2 separate regions of the Homo sapiens genome follow, and region 1 is linked to region 2. Evidence: promoter capture Hi-C in human tissues and cell types (Jung and others, 2019). All regions are on one chromosome and are shown on one strand. Each heading gives the region's core, a stretch centred on a gene start or on the middle of the fragment in contact. The rest is flanking DNA. Distances are from core to core; before and after follow the strand shown. Region 1 overlaps WDR75 (WD repeat domain 75). Region 2 holds the start of ANKAR (ankyrin and armadillo repeat containing).

The links. The method cuts DNA at HindIII sites, captures the fragments that hold promoters and counts their contacts. A contact is called where the count stands out against the background at its distance.
Region 1: a fragment that was not itself captured here is called in contact with the fragment with the promoter of ANKAR in region 2 in 2 of the 25 tissues and cell types used here (IMR-90 fibroblasts and mesendoderm cells).

What each region holds. Positions count from the first base shown.
Region 1 is chr2:189,470,492-189,475,331 of GRCh38, forward strand. WDR75 (WD repeat domain 75) reads left to right here. Exons shown (of 21, transcript NM_032168.3): 18 at 328-387; 19 at 3,695-3,841; 20 at 4,226-4,317; 21 at 4,722-4,840. Among named protein-coding and RNA genes, the nearest start is that of WDR75, 31 kb to the left of the region's middle. The HindIII fragment of the contact is 7,458 bases long and covers 1-4,840 here.
Region 2 is chr2:189,671,777-189,676,643 of GRCh38, forward strand. It overlaps ANKAR (ankyrin and armadillo repeat containing), which reads left to right and starts at 2,894. Exons shown (of 23, transcript NM_001378068.1): 1 at 2,894-3,054; 2 at 4,680-4,867. The coding sequence starts at 4,715. It overlaps LOC105373793 (a long non-coding RNA gene), which reads right to left and starts at 2,509. Exons shown (of 2, transcript XR_923692.3): 1 at 2,055-2,509; 2 at 1,344-1,617. RefSeq lists a silencer at 2,550-2,969 and an enhancer at 3,020-3,279. The HindIII fragment of the contact is 7,879 bases long and covers 1-4,442 here.

The sequences.
Region 1 (4,840 bases), core at 1,496-3,995, 200 kb before region 2:
CAACTAAAATACTTTAAATTGCATGATTCTTTTTTCTTTTTCTTTTTTTTTTCAGTGTTTGATTTGCAATTTTTAAAATGGTGGCTTGAGTTTTGTCTGTCAGTTATATTTTTTATTCATTACCATTTCTTAAGTATCTCTCAGACATAATCTTGTAACTCTCATCGTGGTTATTAAATAGGTTTAAATCTTTTATTCCTTTTCTGTTGTCAAATATATATATCAAAGTGAAAAATTTGACCTTCTCATTTTTTAACACCCTGTAACACCTTGTTTAGATTTGCACTCTACAGTTTGTCTTTTGCATCATTAATTCTCTCTTTTCAGAGTTTATTGACATTCAGTACAAAGTCTCCAGAAGAAAAACTCACACCAACAAGCAAACAGGTATGTTTTAGCCATTCATAGCAGGATGTATTGCCTCCCTAAAAGGATACAATTACCTTTTAGAAGTCAACTATGAAAAAAATATTTCACTTGGCCCTAAAATAGAATTAAAAGCCATATACTTATAAACTGATATGTGTCTCTTGAAAGTTTTAGTGCTCTTTTAAAATTATTTTAATTTATAATATCAGTAATATATAATTCTGATTTAAAGAGTCAAATATTTTTACAAGGCTCTTCAGAAAAAACTTCTCCAACACCACTACCATTACCCACAAAGACAATCACTCTCAAATCTTTTAGCTGAAGTTTTTATTTAACTCTGAATCTCTAAGAAATCTCTAAGAAATGTTTATATTTCTAATTATAGGTTTTTCAGATTTAGGTATTATCTGTTAACTCTGATCTATTGACGCTGAATTTTTAGCTGTTTTTCACATCAGCACTCCCTGCATATACACAACACACACTTTCCCTACTTGTCCCCCAATTTTCCCCATATGGGTAAATGTTAAATTGGTTAGTTCAGTAGTCATTGTCATAGCTGTGTTAACACAATTCATAGCCAAGCCATGTAGTAATAGGCAGATTGTTTTTCCTTTTGTGACCAAGTTTTTATTTTCTGTGGAGTTAATGATTGCCTTGTTTTTTCATTTGCTTAGTTTTCTATTCTCATGTAATTCAACCCCAAATTCTGCTCAAGTTGTGTAAGTATTCTCTCAGTGTTTTCAGATACATTAGGTATTCTTTCAAGTCATAAAGGATTATTTCCAAGAGCCTTCTGACTGTCTTCAGTCTGGACTGATTGCTCTGGAAACCTGCTACACAGTAGTCATCCTAGGATCTATATTCACCATCATTCTGGGGATTTGTTTGACCTCTACTCTATTAGTGGTGTGGTTTTTCTCTTTCTTTGGTCACTCCCCTGTTTTGGTGAAGCATTCTTTTAGTGCATTGGAGGTCAATTTAAGACCTTGCATGTTTGGAAATGTTTTTATTCTCTTTCACTTGATTATTATAGAGTTGTAGGTTGAAAATCATTCTCGCAGAACTTTGACATTATTGTCCTATTATTTTATAATTTCCATTATTACTAGAAGACCAATACCATTCTTGTTCTTGTTCCTTTGTCTGTAACTTGGCTTGTTTATTTTCCTTTAAAACTCATTGGATTAATTCAATAATTTTTTGTTAATTATTTACTGTACGCCAGGGACCATTGTAGACAGTTGGGATACAGTAGTGAGAAAAGTAGTCAAGTCTCTAAACTTGCGGTATTCACAGTCCACCAGAAGATAGAGACAGTAAACAACATGCATTAAGTAAAATATGGAGTAGAGAAGGTGGTAAGAATTGTGGTGGGGTAGAGAATAGACGAAAAGATGGCATGCATGGGATGCAGCTTGTAATTTTAAACAGGGAAGTCTACGTAGGCCTTATTGAAAAGATTCTGACTTTTTCTCTGAGTTACATATAGGGCCCCTTGGAGAGTTTTGAGTAGAGAACTAAGGAGGAGCTAATTACTTCTTTCTCTATTCTTTTTCTAGAACTCCTATTATTTAGTGCTGGACTTTCTAGAATGGTTCTCTATTATTCTTATTGTTTTGCCTATTTTTTGTTTGTTTTCTGGAAGATTTCCTCATCTTTATCATCAAATCTTTTTTTCTTTTTCATGGTCTGTTTCCATTACATTTTTTTTTGTTTTTGGTTTGTCTTGGTTGCTGCCTTTCATCTAGAGGTTTTCATCAGAGTCTGATGATTCTTGGCTGTCTTTGGATTTAAAAGTGGGTTAAAAAGCCACTTGGAAGTTCTCTGCCTGTGCAGAACTTATCCCTTGGCTTCCACTATCTGAGCTAATTTATTGAGACAGTCTCAAATGTCATTACAATTGACCCTTGAACAATGTAGAGATTGAAAACCTATGTATAACTTTTGACTTCCCAAAACTTAACCTGAAGCCTTACTGATAACAGTTATTTGTATTATATGTATTATATACTGTATTCTTACAATAAAGTATGCTAGAGGAAAAAAAAAAGTTAAGAAATATCATAAGGAGGCCGGGCACGGTGGTTCTTGCCTGTAATCCCACATTTTGGAAGGCCAAGGCAGGTAGATCACTTGAGGTCAGGAGTTCGAGACCAGCCTGGCCAACATGGCAAAACCCCATCTCTACTAAAAATACAAAAATTAGCCAAGCATGGTGGTGCATGCCTGTAATCCCACCTACTCGGGGGCTGAGGCAGGAGAATCACTGGAACCTGGGAGATGGCGGTTGCAGTGAGCCTAGGTCACACCACTGCACTCCAGCCTGGGTGACAGAACAAGACTCCATCTCAAAAAAAAAAATTATAAGAAAGAGAAAAATATATTTATTCATTAAGTGGAAATAGATCATCACAAAGGTCTTCATCCTCATCTTCACATAGAGTAGGCTAAGGAAGAGAAGGAGTTGATCTTGCCATCTCAGGTCTGGCAGAAATAGAAGAAACTCCACATAGACGTGTTATTCGAACCCTTGTTATTCCAAGGTTAGCTGTATCTTTAGGTCTTACTTAGGCTGGTCAAATTAACCATAAAAAATTCTATGCGTTCCTGCCTAAAGGATTTAGACCTACCTGTCAGTGTTCTGAGAACCCCCTACATGAAGTACAACTGCCTAGATATGAAGATACCACCACCACCACCACCGCTATCCATACCTAGCCTAAAGATGTAGAGCCCTCTGCTGGGGCTGAGGAGGAGCTGTGGGGTGCTTTCTAAGTAGACTTTCCACCAGCCCGTCTGGTTTGTCTAGTCCCATTTTCACCCCACATCCAGAGTTACTATTATTACCAACTCCTGAGCATTTGCAGGATTCTGTAGTATGAATTGGGATGCTTCTTGGCTTTCCCTACAGCCAGCTTAGAATTGTGCTTTCTCAGGTCTACTAAGTTCAATACCATCCTTCAGCCTGCTCTCCAGTTTCCAACATGTTACTGTTAAGGCCTTTTCCCTCATTTTCTATCATTGTGAGTATGTGCCCTTTGAAAACCCTTTTGCTGTCATTTTTGTGGGATTTGGTGAAGAAGCAGTGGTAAATGCATGTATTATTCTGTCATCTAAGTGTTCACTGTTAGCTCTTCTCATAAGTGGGATGCTAGGCCTCAGTTGCTTTCTCTGTGAAATGAGAGGATCATACTAACTGGATAATTTGTAAAATTCCTTTCATCCCAGACTTTTTATGATTCTGTAGTACTTACTGTTAAGTCAAACACAGTTCTTCCTTTTTTCTGAAATAATTTCTCTTTGTCTTAAATCCTTAAAGCTGCTAGCAGAAGAAAGTCTTCCCACAACCCCATTTTATTTCATATTGGGAAAACACAGGCAACAGCAGGATGAAAAACTAAACGAAACTTTAGAGAATGAGCTGGTACAACTACCCTTAACAGAAAACATACCCGCAATTAGTGAGGTAAGTAATTATGAAAACCATGTGAAACAGATTAAATGCACTTAAAGCACCTGAAGTTGGAGTTTTGACACAGTCAATCTGTAATTTGTATGCTGTACAACTTTAATACCCAAACTAAATAACTAACAACAAACCGAGTAACTTAACCTTGTGATCTGGGATTGTTTTGTCCTGGACCTGGTGTAGGGATAGGGGTGGTTGTTGGCATAAATGTAGGAAGGTAGAAATGTATTTTTCTTTGGTTTGGCTTTTGTATAGGGAAAGCCTTTTCATGTTTCACTCTTGGCATTTACAATAAAAGGGACTCCGTGAGGACACTGTAGGAACAGACTGCGGTGGAGGATAAGCTTTTTAATTGCAACCGTGTTTTCTGTTTGACTCCAGCTTCTTCACACTCCAGCCCATGTCCTGCCATCTGCTGCTTTCCTGTGCTCCATGTTTGTAAATTCATTGCTGCTGTCTAAAGAGACTAAGAGGTAAAGCAGTTCTTAAGACAGGTTTGGACACTCTCTTTTGGGAAACAGGATCGTTTGTGTTTATCCTTTTTTAGAGTATTCTTCCACTGTATTTCTTTTTATTTCATAAGTTTTAAAATAGATTTAAAGGCTATAGGATTATTAAGTCAAGTAACATACATTGAAAATAAGTTTCAAAAAAGATCTTGTATGTGTGTGTTTTAAGGGCTTGGTACATAATTTAAAATTACATGTTTGTAAATTCACCTGCTCTTTTATAAATAACCCATAATTTTTAAAGTGTACTTAGTAACAAAATTCTTCATTTACTTTGTGTGATTATATTTCTACATAGGTGTCAAATTAGAAAGTTACTGTTTAGAAACATTTAATAGTGTTTATATTTTATTCTGTTATTGTTAAAGTGCTAAGGAAATTCCTGAAGATGTAGATATGGAAGAAGAAAAAGAAAGTGAAGATTCAGATGAAGAAAATGATTTTACCGAAAAAGTCCAGGATACAAGTAACACAGGTTTAGGAGAAG
Region 2 (4,867 bases), core at 1,644-4,143:
TACCCAGCTGGTATTCAGAGAGCTGGAGAATTGCTTGGTAATTCTCCACACATCTGGTGGAAAAAATCCACACATCTGGTGTCAGAAGTGTTGTGTGAGAGTGAAGAGAAACAGTTTGTTTTCCCAGACTCACTCTCTTTGATCACTCCATCCAGAAATGATTCAGTTCCCTCTCTTCAGGGACCATGGTTTAGACAGGGTCCTGTTTCATGGATAAAAGAACTACAGGTTTAAAGAAGCTAAACAATTTGCTTGAGGTTCATCCTCCTGAACAGTACTTGTTACTTCTATTACATCTTTTTAGGCAGCTCATTTTCCCACCCCAGTAACTTTTAAAGACTACAGTTGACCCCTGAACAACACATTTGAACTGTGCAGTTCCACTTATATGTGGATTTTCTGCCTCTGCCACCCCGAGACAGCCCCTTCTCCTCCTCAGCCTACTCAACCTGAAGACAAGAATAATTACGTCTTCCTCTACTTACTATGTCTTGCCTCTCATCCACAGTCACTCTCTCCACCTTTTTGTCTATTTACTCCAACCTGACATCCACCCACATTACTCAACTGTTAACTGCCATACCAGTGTCACTGTGAAATCTGTCCATTAGGATCGACACCATTTCTGGATCTGGCCACCCTTTGATTCTTTAATCACAGTAGCAAATAAATTTTAGGATCCGGACAAACAGGTCAGTAACCTGGCAAAGGCTTTCACATGCCCCGAATTTATTCCCTGGAAGATGCAATGTTCAACCAAAATTTAGATACTGCCTACATAGCTTTCATCCCTCAATCTGAAAGCAGACAACTTCAAGTGTCTGTGTGGGCCTGAGCACTAAATTGACATTGCTTATATTGGGAGTAGATGAACTTAAGAGGTTTGCCCCACGGCCTAGAATTGAATATTATAACACCAATACAGTTTAATACTGAAAATAGCTATAACTTACATAATGCTATATTCCAGGTGCTACTCTACTCTATGAGATTTAAATGTATTAATCAGTCAAACTTTTATAAGGAATTTCCAGGTCATCTGCTCCACCAGAATACTGAGAGAGACAGAGAGAGGATACACATGCATGTGTGTGAACCCCAAGAGGGCCTGGGCATTTACAACCTTCTGCTATTCAATCCCATTAGCTCTGGGATGGAGTTCTGTGTTGATCCTTTAAAAAATGAGGCATCTCTTTCCGAAGATTTGAGACACATGGAACAAACCATTTGGCTACCCAGGGGGAAACAATCCTTGAAGTAGGAGAATGTACATATATGGTTCATATTTCTTAAGTGCAAACATGCAAATCTTTGTAAAAAAAAAAGCCCTGGAATAGTCCTCATAAATTTATTAATATTTATTTCCATAGTAGCTAAAATAATGACATGGTTACTGGAAGAGAAATTCTGCCCCAAACAGTCACCAAGAACTTCCAAGCTGCTGCATTCAGTGGAAGTTTGTTCTCATCTCCCCTGACCGAGCAGCAGCATCCGATAAAGTTGGCCATTCCTTTTTTTTTTTCCACACACTTCTTTGGCTTCTGTGACCAATTTTGGTTTTCCTCCTGCCTTCTTGGCTGTTCTTTTTGTCTTCTTTGCTGACTTCACTCTCTCTACCTGACGTTTAAATGTTAAATTTCTCAGGTCTCTAATCCTTGGTTCTCAACTCCTCATTCTGCACGCTCTCCCTTGGTGATTTCAACCCCACTCCTGGCTTCAATTACTATAAATCTGCCAAAATTTATACATCTAACCCCTACTGCCATTCTTAGCCCAGAACTGTTTATCTAAAGCATATCTCACATCTCAATTTCTCTCACAGGTACTTCAAGGTCAATTAGTACATAACTGAACTCTTAATCTTGCCCTGATATCCTGTTGCTCCTGACAGAAATGTGGTTCTGACTTGGACACAACCTTCTTTTTCAACATATCCCCAATCTGTCACCAACAGGCAACCTCATTATTTTTCAAATCTGTCCACAGTCCCTGAGCCCCACCTCCACTGCCACTACTGTAGGCTAATCCTTTGGGATGAAATTCAAAATCATTACTCAGCAGCCTGCATGATCTGTCCATCGCGCACCTCAGCAGCTCGGTTTGTGCCCACATCTCTCTTGTTCTCTAAGCAGGGTTTTGCGGTTTCTCAACCATTTCAACTTTGTTCTCACTTCAATTCTTTCTCTCCTGCTGTTCCCTGTTCCTGAAAAGCTACTTGTCCAGTCCTTTGCTTGGGTAGCTCTTTTCCATCTTCTAGGCTCGGAGGGGAAAAGGGCACTTCCTTAGGCAGCCTTTCCTAGCCCTGGGCTAGGTTAGCTTTCATTCGAGTGCTGTCATTCCATCTAATATTGGCACACTGTTAAATATAGCTGTGAGATGATCTGTTCAACTGTAAGCTCCTTGGGGTTTCGTGTCTGCCCTGTTTTCTAGGGTTTCCAGCTTGTAGCTGGGTGCCTGACTCATAATAGGTGTTCCATAAATGCTTGTTGAATGAAAGAATGATGATGGAGGTGGTATTCCAACTCGGGACTGCCTCAACGCCCGGCGCTGTCTCCTCTGCTACTCTGTTTCGGTGTTTTAGCAGAGGCAGATAGTGAGGGCGGCACAGTGCCCACGGCATGCCGCTGGACTAAGCGCTAAGCGGGCTTGGGATGATGCGCACGCGGGGGGTCTGAGCCAGCCAAGGGGCCGGGCGCCGCCTGGGGGCGCTGCGGCTGCTGCGGGACGCACCAGGCCTAGTCGCCCGCAGGCTCCGCCCGAGGAGCAGCCCAGCCACCCCAGGGCCCGGAGGACCAACCGCTTCGACCCGCGCCCGGGCGGCGGCAGTGTTGGCCGGCGAGGCGAGGAGGGCCGGGCCGCCACGGTGGGGCGAAAAGCCCTGAAAGTTCCTCTCAGTTCCTTCCGGTGCGCCTCCCGCTCGCCCTTGCGGAGGCCCTGAGGGCGGATTCAAGGCCCCGCGAGAAGCCATCTGAGGCGGCGACGACTGTTCTCAGCCCCACGGGAACGCCGCGGACGCAGCGTCCCTCTCCCGGACAAGAAAACAGCCATTCTAGAGTAGGTTCCTCCCCTTTCCTTGTTTTTTCCCCTTTCCCGTGCCCATGGCTGACGCGAGCTGCTTTTGGACGTGGGTCCCGGGCTTGACTGGACAGACGTGGGTTCTGTTTCTGAAAGGCGTAAAACCTCAGACTTGTCCTGCAACCTCCTGGTCTCCGTTTTTGCCTCTATAAAGTGGGCATAACAAGGTCTGACTCACTGACCTGGGGTCTCAGGTGTGGCGCCCAAACCAGCACTATCAGCATTTCCTGTAACTTTACTAAAACGCATATTTTCTGGCCCCACTACAGCTCATTGAATCAGAAACTCAGTGGTGGGATTCAGCGATTTGTATTTGAACAAGCCCCAGGTGATTTTGATACAAGCTAAATTTTGAGAACCACTATATAATAGAGACCAATCAGATGAAATAAATCAAACCATTATATAGTAAAGAACCTGGCTCAATAAATAGTAGTTGTGGTTATTATTATTTCAGGAATAGACAGGCATTCATTGGCACAGAAATTGAAGGTTAAGCAAATGCTTCTTTCCTTTTCTTTTTCTTTTTTTTTTCTTTTTTTGAAACAGTGTTTTTCACACTTGTTGCCCAGGCCACCGCAACCTCCGCCTCCTGGGTTCAGCCTCCTGTCTCAAGCCCCGCGAGTAGCTGAGATTACAGGCATGTACGACCACGTTTGGCTAATTTTGTATTTTTAGTAGAGACGGAGTTTCTCCATGTTTGTCAGGCTGTTCTCGAACTCCTGACATCAGTTGATCTGCCCGACTTGGCCTCCCAAAGTGCTGGGATTACACGCATGAGCCACTGCGCCCCACCCTTTTCTTTTCTTTCATGCAGGTCAGTATAGTCTTGCTTTAAAAAACTGAAAACAAAATAAATATCCATATGATTTGGATATTTATCCCCTCCAAATCTCATGTTAAAATAGATTCCCCAATGTTGGAGGTAGGGCTTGGTGCGAGGTGTTTGGATTATGGGGGTGGATCCCTCATGAATGGCTTGGTGCTTTCCTGGCAGAGTGAACTCTACCTCTGAGCTCATGAAAGATCTGGTTGTTTAAGAGTAGACACCTCCCCTTTCTCTCTATTGTTCCGTCTCTTACCATGTGACACACTGGCTCCCCTTCCCCTTCCGCCATGATTGTAAGCTTGGTCTCACAAGAAGCTGAGCAGATGCTGGTGCCATGCTTGTACAGCCTGCAGAATTGTGAGCCAAATAAACCTCTTTTCTTTATAAATTATGCAGTCTCAGGTATTCCTTTATAGCAACACAAACAGACTAACACGAACATATACAAAAGAATGCCTCTCCAACAACAAAATAGGTATGTAACAGTAGCTTCTCACAGATAAACTTAACGTTTCTTTTTGACATACATCTTCTTGTCTTTTGAATTCTTTGAAAAGCAGAACATGGTTAATGATAAAGGTTTTATAATTTTAATTATTTTAATTCAAATTTCAGTTTTCATATACTGCAGTTATTTTTAATTTGAAAACTATAATGGTTGACCATGAAAAATTAATCTTATGTAGGTGAAAGGTACAGATTTATTTCTAGACAAATCCAGTTTCATTGGCATGTCAGATTTTATTGATAATCTTTTCCTTCTTATTCATTGCAGAAGCTTCAAAAAGGACACACTAGATTTAATTAGAAATGTTAAGATTGCCCAAAAAAGGATTACCTAGATTTGAGCAAGTTCAGGATGAAGACACCTACCTGGAAAATTTAGCAATACAAAGAAATGCATCTGCTTTTTTTGAAAAATATGATCGGAGTGAAATACAAGAGTTACTAACTACTGCACTA